Regions from separate parts of the Homo sapiens genome. Here region 2 is linked to region 1. The links are contacts of gene promoters, found by promoter capture Hi-C in blood cells and fetal thymus (Javierre and others, 2016). All regions are on one chromosome and are shown on one strand. The core of a region is centred on a gene start or on the middle of the fragment in contact, and the rest is flanking DNA. Distances in the headings are between cores, read along the strand shown. Region 1 holds the start of LINC02314 (long intergenic non-protein coding RNA 2314). Region 2 overlaps RTL1 (retrotransposon Gag like 1).

The links. Contacts are between HindIII fragments. The CHiCAGO score rates a contact against its expected background, and 5 or more counts as called.
Region 2: a fragment that was not itself captured here is called in contact with the fragment with the promoter of LINC02314 in region 1 in 4 of 17 cell types (M1 macrophages, M2 macrophages, M0 macrophages and 1 more); the score reaches 7.1 in M1 macrophages.

Annotation. Positions count from the first base shown.
Region 1 is chr14:101,437,967-101,444,753 of GRCh38, forward strand. It overlaps LINC02314 (long intergenic non-protein coding RNA 2314), which reads left to right and starts at 4,110. Exons shown (of 2, transcript NR_135240.1): 1 at 4,110-4,291; 2 at 6,016-6,349. The HindIII fragment of the contact is 14,900 bases long and covers 1-6,787 here.
Region 2 is chr14:100,883,420-100,890,206 of GRCh38, forward strand. RTL1 (retrotransposon Gag like 1) reads right to left here. Exons shown (of 4, transcript NM_001134888.3): 4 at 1-1,455. The coding sequence starts at 1,369. It overlaps MIR432 (microRNA 432), which reads left to right and starts at 1,064; the gene lies at 1,064-1,157. It overlaps MIR136 (microRNA 136), which reads left to right and starts at 1,283; the gene lies at 1,283-1,364. It overlaps MEG8 (maternally expressed 8, small nucleolar RNA host gene), which reads left to right and starts at 6,230. Exons shown (of 51, transcript NR_146000.1): 1 at 6,230-6,337. RefSeq lists a silencer at 2,273-2,567 and enhancers at 5,237-5,406, 6,066-6,235. The HindIII fragment of the contact is 160 bases long and covers 2,693-2,852 here.

The DNA.
Region 1 (6,787 bases), core at 2,860-5,359:
GCTGTCAATAGAAATCACAAATGTTTTCACACATTAAAGCTGTTGCAGGTATCTCGAAATATCACTCGCACTCATCACTACTCCGAAATCGTGGTAGTTGTTAGATTTATACCACTCGATCTTATTTAAGATATTAATAAAGAAGCACATATGAATATACATCACAAATGTGGCTTTTGATATATTGTCACCTTATTTCAATAGAACAGGTTTCCTTTGTGACTCTTGGTACTTCATTCATTTAAAAACATTAGTCTGAGAAAGGGTCTGTAGGCTTCACCAGGCCACAAAACGGCGACCGTGAAATGGGTCACAACAGAAAAAGGAATCTTTGATGAATGCCTCCATAGGCCAAGCAATTTGCAAAAAAAATTATTTCTTCTTATTTCAGCTACTTTATTTTTTAATTTTTAAAAATATTTATTGACTTGTATTCTCCAATTCAAAAAATAATTTGATCTTATTATAACAAGTGAAACAATGCAAGAAAAAGATATACAAAGGCAGTCTATCTTGGAAGTTTGATACACACATCACAATGGACTGCATAACAACATAGATTCAAATAAAGTGTTAGGAAGCCAGCTCAGAGAAAGACAGTGAGGCTGGCAGGTAGAAGAATTGCTAGTGATGGTGTTTCCATTGTGGACCAAGTAAGCAGTCATTCCCATAAGATGTGAGCAGGCGCCCTGTGCAAAAGGATTCTGTGGTCACAGTGGATGAGAAAATGCTCGGTTAATCAAAGGCACACTGCATTTTTTTTAATACACTAAAATGCACTGAGAATCTCCAAAGGAGAAAATATAATATGCAAGGTTTCTGAAATACAGTTGTCTACAAAATCTTCCTCTCTCCTCCCCAACCCTCCCCAAGAACTTTCTTATATTCCCCAGAACATGGTTTGGGAATTGCTGAAACAGGGTAATGTAAGTTTCATCCTGACCTCAGCCATTTAAAACATGCAGCCAACAATGGCTACATCTTTTGTTTTTCTCTCCTTAGGTCAGTAAGGAGATATGAGATTTTTTGTCTTGCCAGAATTCTTTATTTATTTACATTAAAAACGAGAAAAAATATATAACCACCAACAAAGGTTTCACTCTTTTTTTTTTGTACTAATATACTTCAGACTCAGCTTTTACCTTGCTGGAGGGAGAACTTAATTACTTACAGGTTTTTCTAGAACAGTCCTTAGTTCAACCCTACCACAGTTTACACTGCAGCCCACATTACAGAATTCCACTGGCATTTGGCTCTCCAGTCTCCCTCTTTAGAGTGGTAATACAGTGCTCTCAGGGTTATACACAGAGAAGTTTAGAAAATACCAGCCAGTTGAGACTAGTTGGCCCCTCCACTCAGAAAGCTGCAGAATGCCTTTCACCCAGCCACACCAAAAGATGTAAGGAGCAAAGAGCTCCCACCAGCCACGCACACAAAGGACGTGTATGCTCACCTGGAAATCAGTGGCTAAAGAGGTAGCACCCTTGCGGGGACCAGAAGGGACCCAAAGAGGCCTGAGGAAAGTGAAGGAAACTAGAAAAGACAGCAGAGTCTCACTCCTATAAGTAAACTTCAAACTTGCTTTTAAAATGATTAGCAACACATTCTGGTTTGTTTATAGTCTATACATGATCTCGCAGAGTCAAGAAAAGACAGACTTCCCTCTGTAACCTTTCCACTTGCACCAATGATTTCCAGATCATCGGTGCCTGAAGCCAATCGCCTGCTTCAAAGAGGCATCCTTTGCAAGAGCACTTGTGCGTTCAGAGTTCCAGTGGTACCAAGGATGACAGTGAGGCTTTTGATAGTGATAGGCGGCTTAATGAAGAGAGCCAGGACAGCATGCTTGCTCTGCCCCCACTCGTTCACTTGCTCCCTAACAGTGAATCGGGGGATGGTCTGAGGCTCTCCACTCCCTAACCAGAGCCCACTGAGCCCAGACTGCCACCTCGAAAATGGGTGATGACCATCGTTTCCTTGACCAGACAGGCCTCGACATCAGCCTTTCTATAGAATGCCAGAAATGGCAGAGCCTGCCCTTGGGCGAAAACACTTTTTAGATAACTAATCAGCAATAATGCTGCAACTGACCTGCCTGCAGGCTTCAGCGGCTCCAGATCTAAATTACCCTAATTTTTCTCCCCCAAAATTAGGCATAATATTATAATTTCAAGGAACGCAAGAGCCATTTCTCCCATCATTGGATACCAAGCTCAAGATGTTACAGGAAAAAGAAATAGCTTTTACTGCTGATATGAGAATTTTAAAAGAGAGACAAGTGTGAGCAAACAAAACCTGTCACATCAAATACTCTGGCAAAAAAAAAAAAAAAAAAAAGCTAGAAAAAAAATGCCAGAAATGCTGAAATCTAAATAAAGTCATTTATTTGTTATTTTAACCCCTTCACTGTCAGAGCTACTCTGGCATAAGGCTAGTTAATTCTCCAGAGGTGAGCTTTATTAAGGACAGTGCCCTTATTCTTGCAGCCATTGTTTTCTTGTCACACAGTTCTCTTGATTATCTGGTCCCTTCAAGGGGTTCCACATACAAATGGGGTGCTGTTGATGCTCCTTGGGCCGTACCTCCTTTTAAAGTATGATTTTTTCAGAGAATTTGATTTTATCCAATTTCCACCATGCTAAGCAAAAACACTAGACTGTGAGATCCCGAAGGGCAGCAGCCCCGTGACCCTCATGGTTCTGGCACATGGAAGGTATTCAAAGCATGAGATGGAAATTGCTTTTTGAACTCTGTGCCTTAGGCAGTTAACATGCAAGCAAAGATAAGATGCCTTCGGCAGGGGAGGCTATGACAACCAACGAGAAAAATGGAAAAACACCAATTGGATGGGTCTGCAGTTGATCACTTGCTCTTCCTTGGTCAAGTTCATGAGCCTGTCTCCTGTTTCGAGGATACATGCTTTTATAAATGTTAAATAAGCTAACACTGCTGAAAGGGCATTGCTAATGGAGGTCTGTGGAAATAGAGGGAAATATTTCTAATTAGAAGGTATGGATTGGGCACTCACTGTGTGCCAAGCACTACAGTGGACCCTGAAATGAGTCAGCCACAGACTCGGTCCTCCAAGATCCCCGCTCCTCCAGCTCCATTCATTTTAGCCCGATGCAATGAGGCTTCTTTCTGCCTTCAGGAATTGCTTGGGCAATGGTTCCCAGGACCTTCTGACTCAGAGGATTCCACAGACTTTTCAGCCCTTTCTTCTGGGAGGTCTCCGTGGCCTTCCCACCACTGCCTCAGTCTTGTGGTGGTGCCGCTCCCCATGGGGGCTTCTCCCACCCTCCCGGCTGCTCCTCCCCCACCTCCTGAGCCCACCTCTAGAGGCTGGGTCATCTCGGGCTGTTCCTGCGGTCTCTTCTGCTCTCTAAATACCCACTGTCCAGGAACGCCCACCCTGCGGTGGCCTCAGCTCCCACCTACAAGCCCAGGACTTTTCTCCCAAGTCCTAATCTTATTAAATATGCTGCCTGCCTGCAGGCTGTATTCACCAGCCATCTTCTCGCCTTCGCCCAGGAGTTGATACCACCACTGAGAGGGCACTGCCAAGCACCTATGCAGGGAGGCCCGGGTCCCTCTGGGCCCTGTCCGGGCCACATCCTCAGCATTTCTCTCCGTCTCAACAGCTCAAGCCCTGTGGTACCTCTTGCTGAGCCTCTGGGGTTCTCCCAGAAGGCCAGCCCCACCCTCGTCTGACCCCACAGTCCTGCCTCTCCAGTGCGGCTAGACTGTCTTCCCCAGCTGACGCCCATCTGCGGTTCCCCACGGCCAGTCTCAACAGTCTCCTGCCTGCACCCACTCCTCAGCCTTCTCCATTGGAGGCTCCCCTCCTCAGACACACAGGCCTGTCTGCTGCCCCATCGTCTCTGCGCAGGCTGCTCTCTCGGTGTCCCTGGCCCATGCCCACTCCACGCTCCAGGGCTCAGCCTCCTCTCCCGCTCTCCACCCCACCCTTCGTCTCCTGCCCTCCACCCCACCCCTCCTTTCCCGCCCTCCACCACACCCCTCCTCTCGGGCTCCTGGGCACCCCCCCGCCACCTGCGTCTCCTGTCGTCAGCAAAATGCACTATTTGCTCATCCAGTGCCCACAGTTTGCCCACCGGACGGCCCTGCTAGGTGGGAAGCTCCTTGCAGGCAGGAACCCCATCTCCTTGACTTTACTTTGGAATCCCCGCAGCCTCATACGGGGCTGAGGCAGGTCCTTCCGTAAAATGGAACTGAATGAGCGGCGCTTAATCCATCCGCCAAAGGCCAGTCTCCCTTGGGTTTTCAACAGGTAACATGAGCTTTTAAAAATGAGTCTTGTTAAATGAAGTGCCCTGATTTTCAAAGTTATGCCCACACAGAACGACAGGGCAGGGGCTCCCTTCCAGAATGACAGAGCCCTGGGGCTCGTCTGACCACTTCTCCACCCCCAGATTCCTCTCATCACCCGATGCCTTTACTTTGGGACTCTTCCAGGTCGTTCCTCACCTCGTGCAGCATTGCTGTGAGTGGGCGACAAGGAACCTCGTGGTCTCCGTGTGCTTTGCGGGGACCACCTCTTCGCAGGGGCCGCCACCTGCCTCTCCGGCGCTGCATCCTTAGCATCCCCACTGCCCCCGGATCTCCTTCAGGGAGGTGCGGCGGCAGAGCGGCCCCAGCAGCCTCCTCCTGTGGCCCAGGCGCACCAAGGCGAGCGCGGCCACGAGTTCCGGCCCAGCGCCACCCAGACTCTTTGATGTGGGTTTGTGTGTGGGAGAGTAAAAGATGCACACACCCTCCGCAAGTCTAGAATTTGTGGTTTTTGTTATCTCACAACTTCATATTTGGAAGAAGTATTTTAATGTCTTATGAGTTGTGAATAATTATGTAATTCTGCCACTTTCTCAAAACCAAGATTTTTCAAACGGACTGCTCTAGTCTGGAGCTGACATCCTTAAGAGAACTTTGCTTTTTTTCCTGTGGGTTTTAAGCAAGAGTGTGCCAAATGAATTCTTTCGTCCGCTTAAAACAGTTCATTAGGGGGAACCATCCTGTAAAAGGAAAGGAAAGGAAAGGAAAATCCTTCCTTCTTCAAATGAATTCTCAAAAATTACTTCTGAGATGCAAATGCTGCCTGAGTGTTTGAGCTCCGTGAGAGAGTCCACTTCCCAACTTGTTTTCAGTCTGCTGTTGGGTGCTACTGAATTTCTTAAACATTGTGTTTCTCCCTTATCTGTGAATTAGCCATGTGTTCTTTGGAATCTCTTCCTGGGTCTTCGTTATTCTTCCTCAGTTATTTAAGAACCTAGGGAAGGCCCGGCGTGGTGGCTCACGCCTGTAATCCCAGTACTTTGGGAGGCCGAAGCGGGCGGATCACCTGAGGCCGGGAGTTTGAGACCGGCCTGACCGACATGGAGAATCTAAAAATGCAAAATTAGCCGGGCGTGGTGGCGGGCGCCTGTAATCCCAGCTACTCGGGAGACTGAGGCAAGAGAATCGCTTAAACCTGGGAGGCGGAGGTTGCAGTGAGCCGAGATTGCGCCATTGCATTCCAGCCTGGGCAACAAGAGCGAGACTCCGTTAAAAAAAAAAAAAAAAGAAAAGAAAAAGAAAAAACCCTAGGGAAAGGGTCACGAAGACTGCATCATCAAATGACACCATGAACTCCTCAAGGGTCTACCCATTGTTTTAACTTACTGCCCAAAAGGTACTTCTCATTCGAATAGCCCCCATTCTACAGTCATCTCTATCAATCATCATGTCACTTGATCATGACATCGTTCTAAGCACCTGTAACATCCCAGACCCTGTCTGAAGCACCAGGAATGCTGGGTGAGCGGGACAGAAGGGACCACAGATCCTCACGTTGCCTTATCAAGTTTAGACTCTAGTGGTCCCGATGGCTGATCTCATGACATTCAAATAGGAGGCGATCATTTCCTTAAATACAAACACGAGATTGTCAATAGTTAGGATGTGCTTATTTTTCCTCCAGGGCATAAGATTTTTTTTCTTGTATGTATTTCATATCCCTAGCTGGAGAAATATCAAAAGAATCTGAATATCACCATCTGGAAGTTGTGCCATGGACTCCAGTGGGCAGGATTCGAGCTGGGATTCTCTTCTTCCTCTAGCAGTGTATTTCTTCTGCTTAAAATGAGCACAAACACATCTAATTCCCTAATGGACCAACTCAGACCTAAAAGTCTCTTATTCTTTGCCCGCCTTCCTCTACCCACATGGATTCCTGGGATTCTCTAAATGCAGATGGCAATGGGGAGGGCTGGGGATTCCCATCAAGGATATTTGATCATCGGTGACTTCACTTAACCAATAAATCAAACGTGTTGAAATACACACATGTCAGAAATGTGGTATGCTGTTACTCACTCAAAAGTCTGTTGGTCTGTCTTGGTTGCGATTGGGCAATGAAGCCCTAGGGACTTATTTCGGCTTCAATAGTCTGTAACCCTCAATCAATATTTCGTTAAGTGTCAGTATTCATTCCTAGTATTTCCCCAAGTTTAACTTGTTCCTTTTGAAACGACTGGTATTCTTATGAGCCAGAAGACTGTTATTTGAAAATGTTTCCTTTTTTTTTTTTTTTTTTTTTTTTTTTTTTTTTTTGAGACGGAGTTTCACTCTTGTTGCCCAGGCTGGAGTGCAGTGGCACGATCTCGGCTCATTGCAACCTCCATCTCCCAGGTTCAAGTGATTCTCCTGCCTCAGCCTCCCGAGTGGCTGGGATTATAGGCACCCGCCACCATGCCCAGCTAATTTTTGTATTTTTAGTACAGACGGGGTTTCA
Region 2 (6,787 bases), core at 1,523-4,022, 560 kb before region 1:
GTGGGTACGGCTTCTCGTAGAGCTCGACGTAGTGCTCTTGGGCGAACTTCTCATCCATGAAGTTGCCGTCAGCTCCCGAATCCACCAGGGCCTGGACCGCGACGCTGTGGTAGGGGTTCACTCTCACCATGAGCAGCAGGAAGAGGTGGGCGCGATTGATGTCCGGATGGACTTCGCTGGGCAACCAGCTGCTGACCATCCACCTCTCTGGAGCAGGTGAGTCGATCCAGGTCAGGTTCCGGGGGCGGGCCTCGGGGGGCAGCCTGAGCATAGCTCTTCTCTCTGCCAGCTTCTCTTCTATTTGCAGGATGAGCACAATCAGACTGTCTAGGGAATCCGGCTGAGGGACCCGGAATAGATAGTGCCTGATCTCCTCGTTGAGCCCCTGGCACAAGTGGGCCTGCAGGACTTCATCTGGCCAGCCCAAGATGGGTACCAGGCTCTGGAACTCATCGATGTACTCAGTGGCAGAGCGGCCGCCCTGCCTGATGGTGAACATGGCCTCTTCTGCCACACGCAGTGCCTGGCGGTACTCAAACACTTCGGACATGGCCTCCAGGAAGGCTGGGAAGTCTCCGATCAGGGGGCTGTTTTCCTGCAGTAGAGCTTTGGCCCATTCTAATGCCAAGCCGGACAGGTGATTGATGACATAGCCAACTCTCAGACGGTCGTTATAGAACATTCTTGGGTAGCTCTGTAAGGTCAGTTGGCAGAGTACGATGAACTCGTGGAATTCTCTGCGATCGCCAGAGAAGTGCTTTGGGGCGGGCAGTTGGCCTGCATTGATCCCTTTGATCAAGATCTCTTCTGCTACTCTCTGTTGCTCTTTGAGGTCTTGCATTCGGAAGTACAGCGAGATGATGGACCTCACCATGGCCATAAGTTCTGCGGTTGAGTGCTCGGTCTGGTTTTGCTCTTGAGGAGTCTCCTCCCTTCCCGATTCCTTCAGGTCAGTGTGAGCCTCTTGTTCTTCTCGGGCTCCCGATGGGTTGACTGATGCTTCTTTCATCCTATCAGATGCTCCACTGAGTGGATCCCCCCTTGCCTGGTGTGAACCGTTGCATGACTCCTCCAGGTCTTGGAGTAGGTCATTGGGTGGATCCTCTATTTCCTTACGTGGGCCACTGGATGGCTCCTCCATGTCTTGGAGTAGATCAGTGGGCAGCTCTTCCATTTCCTGGAGTGGGCCACTGGGGGGCTCCTTCTTTTCCTGGGCTGGGCCGCTGGCTGGCCCTGCCTCTCCCCGCACTCCACTGCCCGACGTCGCCTCGGTGGTGTTGGATGAGCCCTCGGAGGACTCCATTTGTTTTGATGATGGATTCTTATGCTCCATCATCGTCTCAAATGAGTCTTCAGAGGGTTCTATCATTTCGTCGGATGGAAAGGAGTGTATTCTGAAGATTGGTAAGGTTGTGATGGCGTCCAGTCAGTAGCTGGGACCGTGGAGATCAGAACCTGGTGGTGGAAGGGGAGTGTGGGGAGTAAAGGCAGTAGTTTAGGATCTTGTGAAGTGGCAGTATCAGGGTCTCAAGGACAAATCAGATGCCCAACTAATCAGAGCAGAGAGAAATGGGGGAAAGCCTTCTTGTATCGAGCCAGCCTCTTTGGCTGGTCACTTGGGGTGCCCCCAGGGAGGGAAGATCTGTCAACCCCTGACCTGCCTCCCAGGCTTATTCAGTCTGCCTGTCCTGTCCTTTTCCTCCATAGATGTGAGAAATTCACAGCCCATAAATTCTGTGGCTGGGAGCAGCCACCGTGGCAGGCGGGTACCTGGCAGGGTGCACAGGCTGCTCCATTCCCCCCTGGCACATGCACCTGGTCAATCCTCTTTTCCTGCTTTGGTCACCTGAGAATCACAGAGGTCACATCTCAGCACCATCCAAAGCCACCCCTGGCAGGCTCAGGGCTCTGGAGCAAGCCCAGCCACCTTGGTTGTGGAGCGGGAATCTCTAGCAAAGATGCCTACTGTTTCACCAGTGCAGTGGAAGAGGAGAAAATGGGCACTTGGCCACTGTCCCGTCAGTTGGGTCAGCAGCCCAAAATAGTTCTTATTTCCTTCCCCATGTTCAAAATAGAAATTTCAGGGGGTGTGTACAGGTCTGGGTTTTTTTTTTTTTTTTCCATAAATTTTATAACATACCTACTATGTGCTGGATAACTGCATATTTGTTACTTGATTCTAACTCAGACTTTTGGCCAATTTCTCTTTCTCGATTTGGTCTCCTTCCAATGCTATGTTCTCCCGACCTCTGAGCTGTTGAGGAGATCTTCAAATAATCTCCTTCTCTTCCTACAATCTCCACTCTCCCAGGACTGCCCTCTTTGTGAGGCTTCTGGAACTTCACACATCTGGCCTCAATTTCACCAGTGCAAGCATATCTGCACGCCTCTCCAATCTTATCCTCCCAGGTCCCCTTCTTAACGCCAGTGGGTCTGGTCTCCTCTTTCTAGCAAATATCTTTTTCTCTCTGTTGCTGGTTGAGCCCTCCCAACAGACATGTATCTGGCAGAGTTGGGACATTGAGTGTGGGGGTTGGGGGGAACATGTGACATCTTTGGAATCTGACGGTCCCAGAGTGGATTTTTGGAAATCTAGTGTTGGGTGGTTTTAGTGGGCTGAGACAGAATTGAAAGGGAATGTCTTGGTTGGGGTTATTTGCACATTTCTTCTCTGCTGGGGCAGAGCAAATTAAGCTTTGATTATCTGATAGATTAACTGTAAAGCTACTGCTCTTTATAAATTTAACACCTTTTGTTACTTCTGAGTTTTCTTCTAAGCCACTGGACCCATCCGTAAAAAAAAAAAAAAAAACTGCGTTCCCCCTTACGTGAAACTCATTGGCTAAAATCCAAGCTTTCCAACAGGATACAAAATTCAGATCTGCTGTTTCTCAAAATTAAGTACACCCTTGTTAGCATGACACTTAAATTTGATCATGCAGTCTCTCTGATTAAAGCCTTCCACTGTTTATTTACTGTCTGCAATATTAAATCCAAACCTTCTAGCGTAAACATATCTGACATGTAAACTCACCAAAACTATTCTCTGGTTAAAATGTAAGGGCCTTAATATAATATAAAATTCTTATTTTGTCATTCCTCAAGGTAGAGATCACATTTTTTTAAAGCACAGTATACAAATCAGCATGGTATAGGAATTATAAGAATCATCATCATCATCATCATGATGTACATAGCACATTGCAGAAATTAACTCATTTCCTCTCCATAAAAGTCCTCTGAGATATGCATTATTACTGTAAAATTCCAAACCTCTAATATAAAATTCTAATTGAAATACAAATAAATAATTCTAATTGAAATACAAAAACTAAGTAATTCATCTGCAGACTTATCTATCAGGAATAAAAATCTCAGCATGTCTCTCACTTAAAACTCTTTATTGGTGAAAATTTAAATTTCTTAGCAAGACGATTTAAAAACTAGATTATGCCCCCTCTTAATATAAAGTCTACACTGCTTAACATATTTACAAATTCGACCATGTGAATGATTAAATCCTTCAATGTTCCTGCCTTCAGCTCAAAATCTAATATCCTCGGCATGTTAGAAAAATCTTAATACTTCTTAACATCAAAGTTTAAACTGTTAGCAAGATGAATAAAGGTCATCTCATAATTTCTCTATTTAACACATATAAAAATTCATTTTTATTGCCTGTAAAGTTTCAACCACTTAGCATAAAATGAAAATTTTCACCGTGTAATTTACTTGCCAACTGATTAATACGAACCCCCAAATCTCATCAGGTCACTCCTAAAACCCTTTATTGGCTTAATTCCAAACCTCTTCGCATGATATAAAATTCTGACCATGTCATTCCTCAAAATAAAAAGGTCACTCTCCCTTGCAAGATACACGAATTTGCTCTTATAACTTCTGCTTAAAGCTTTATTCTATCTCTTAATTACCTATGAGATAAGGTCTAATTATTTTTAGCATAGAACAATACATTTTACTATAAAATTTCTCTGACTACTCTACCCAAGACAAAATTTCTGCCATGTTACTGCCTTAAAAATCTCTTAATGAGCCAGGCACGGTGACTCACAGCTGTAATCCCAGCACTTTGGGAGGCCAAGGCAGGTGGAACACTTGAGGTCAAGGGTTCTAGGTCAGCCTGGCCAACATGGTGAAATCCTGTTTCTACTAAAAATACAAAAATTAGCCGGGAGTAGTGGCTCATGCCCGTAATCCTAGCTACTTCTCCTAGGCTGAGGCGGGAGAATCGCTTGAACCTTGGAGGTTGCAGTGAGCCGAGATTGCGCCGCTGCACTCCAGCTTGGGCAACAGAGGGAGATTCCCTCTCAAAAAAAAAACAAGACTCTTAATGGCTGAAGTCCAAATTCCTTAGCATGGCATAAAAATGTAATTCTGTCATCCCTCAAAATAGTGTCCAAACTTCTTAGCATGCTATGTAAATTTAATCATATAACTTCTTTTTATAAAAACATGCTTTGTCTATAAATGACCCGTCTCCTCAGCATGGAGCCCAGCCTGGGTGCCCTTGTGCCCAGGGGATACCTCTGCTCACGAGTGGTCTGATGCTTATTCATTATCTGGTTCAGCAAATCCAGATACCTTAACTTAAAATATGTTTACAATCCAGTTTCTCTGGAGACAAAACCCTCATCAATTTACTTCTTAAAACGCTTTACTGGCTGACATCCGAACGCCTCTGCATGAGATTTCAACAATGAGCTCAATGAGCTCATCCCCCACCCCTTCCAAACACAGCACTTGAATGCCTTCAACTCTTTTGTAAAATCACATCTCCTTAGCATGTGAGCAAAATCTGATCATATCATCTTTATCATAGAGATCCTGTCTTATAGCTGTGCCAAAATGCACTTGTTTGAGCATGTAACTTCTCAACTTAAAACTTCTCGAGGTTTCTTCATTGCCTGTAACATAAAGTCCCAACTACTTAACACAAAATGCGACATTTTACCATGTAGTTTCTCTCAGGATGATCTATTAAAAAACCCCAAATCTCATCCTGTTCCTGCTGTAAGCCCTTTATTGGCTTAAATCCAAAGTTATTAACATGATATAAAAATTTGATCATGTCATCCCTTAAAGTCAAATTCACACTTCCTAGGACAATATATAAAATTTGATCTTATAACTCCTTTTAAAATCTTACAGTGTCTCTTAGTTGTAAATGGAAGAAAAGTCAAAATTCTTAGCATAAAATGTGAATTTTATTTTGTAATTCACTGCATACTATTTATCAAACGCAAAAAACTCACCAGGCCACTCTGTTAGAAAGTTTTATTGGCTAAATCAAATTCCTTGGCATATGCAACAGTCTAATCATGTTGGAGCCTCAAAATAAATTCCAAATTTCTTTTCATATTCGCAATATTGATCATTTAACTCCTCTGATTAAAATCTTTCAACTTTGGTGTCAACATTAATCACACCTCCTAGGCAAGCTCTGCAGGTTGAAATTGGCACTCCCCCAAGATAGAAATTCAAAATGTTTGCGCATGATTGTTAAATTGGTGGCTGTTACTTTTACAATTTCCAGTGTTTCCTTGTTGCTTGTAATGTGAATCCCAAAGCCGTTACCCGTAAAATATATTTTATCATGTTTTTCTGCATACTTATCTCCCACAAACAAGAATCTCATCATCACATTTCTTAAAACCCTTTGGCAAAAATCCAAACTCCTTAGCATGATATAAAACTTTGATCCTGTCATCCCTCAAAACAAAGTCCAGATTTCTTCCCAGGAAACTCAAATTATGAAACTCTTGCTTAAAATCTCAACGTGTTTTCATCACTACAAAAAGCCTCACCATTTTAGCAAGGCACCCACTTTTAATCATGGCACTCCCAGCTTCAAACCTGTCAAATTTCATGTCCTCAACATAAAATCTAAATGCCTGAGCATGAAATGAAAATTGGACCAATTATTTCTTACATTAAAAATCTTTGGATTGCTCTTCTCTACTTAAACTATAAAGCTGAAGTTCTTTTCGCATGAAACTAGAACTTTTCACCACCTACAGTTTCCAGCTTCCATTTCCTGTTCCTCACGCTTCTCTCTGAAAAGACTGAGTTTCCCATTCTCCAGCCTCCAAATGCATTTCGATTTTATTGTCCCCAAATGTTTCTTTTCTTTTTTTTGTTTAACCACGTCCCTCTGCCCATAATTCATTAATTCATACAGCAGCATGTCCTGATTCTTTTTCTGGGCCAGGCACGGTGCTCGATCCCCAATGGAAGGAAATGGAGGCAGACCCATCTTGCAGGTCATCACCAGGAAGGAGATGAGACTCATGTCCTGGAGACGAATACCCCACTGGAGGTGAGTGAGGGGCCTTGGAAGCAGGGCCAGGGGGTTCCCTCCACACCTGCTGAGCATCTGCCTCTCTGGGAGGGCTTTGGGCGTTGTTGGGGCCTGTCGGGCCTCCAAATTCTGGCTTTAGATGGGCACTCTGGGATTCCCATCTGGCTTCACCTGCCTACCAGCTGGCCTGCCATAGCCTGGGCCCTGCCTCTTCTCTGCGCTTTGCAGAAATCATATTCTCAGTCCTTCAGCTGTGGCTCAATACATGTTGTTCTCAAATCTCATGACAGTTTCTTTAAGAAATATCTACTGATTTGAAAATTCCCGCCTTATTTGAAAAAAAAAAAAAAAAAAAGAAGCCCAGAATTTAATGCTGCTGGTTTGGGGTCACAACTGCCTTTGAGGTCTTCGAATGGGACCCTCTTCCCCCCAACACTCAAGAGACAGACGCCCCAGCCTCACCACCTT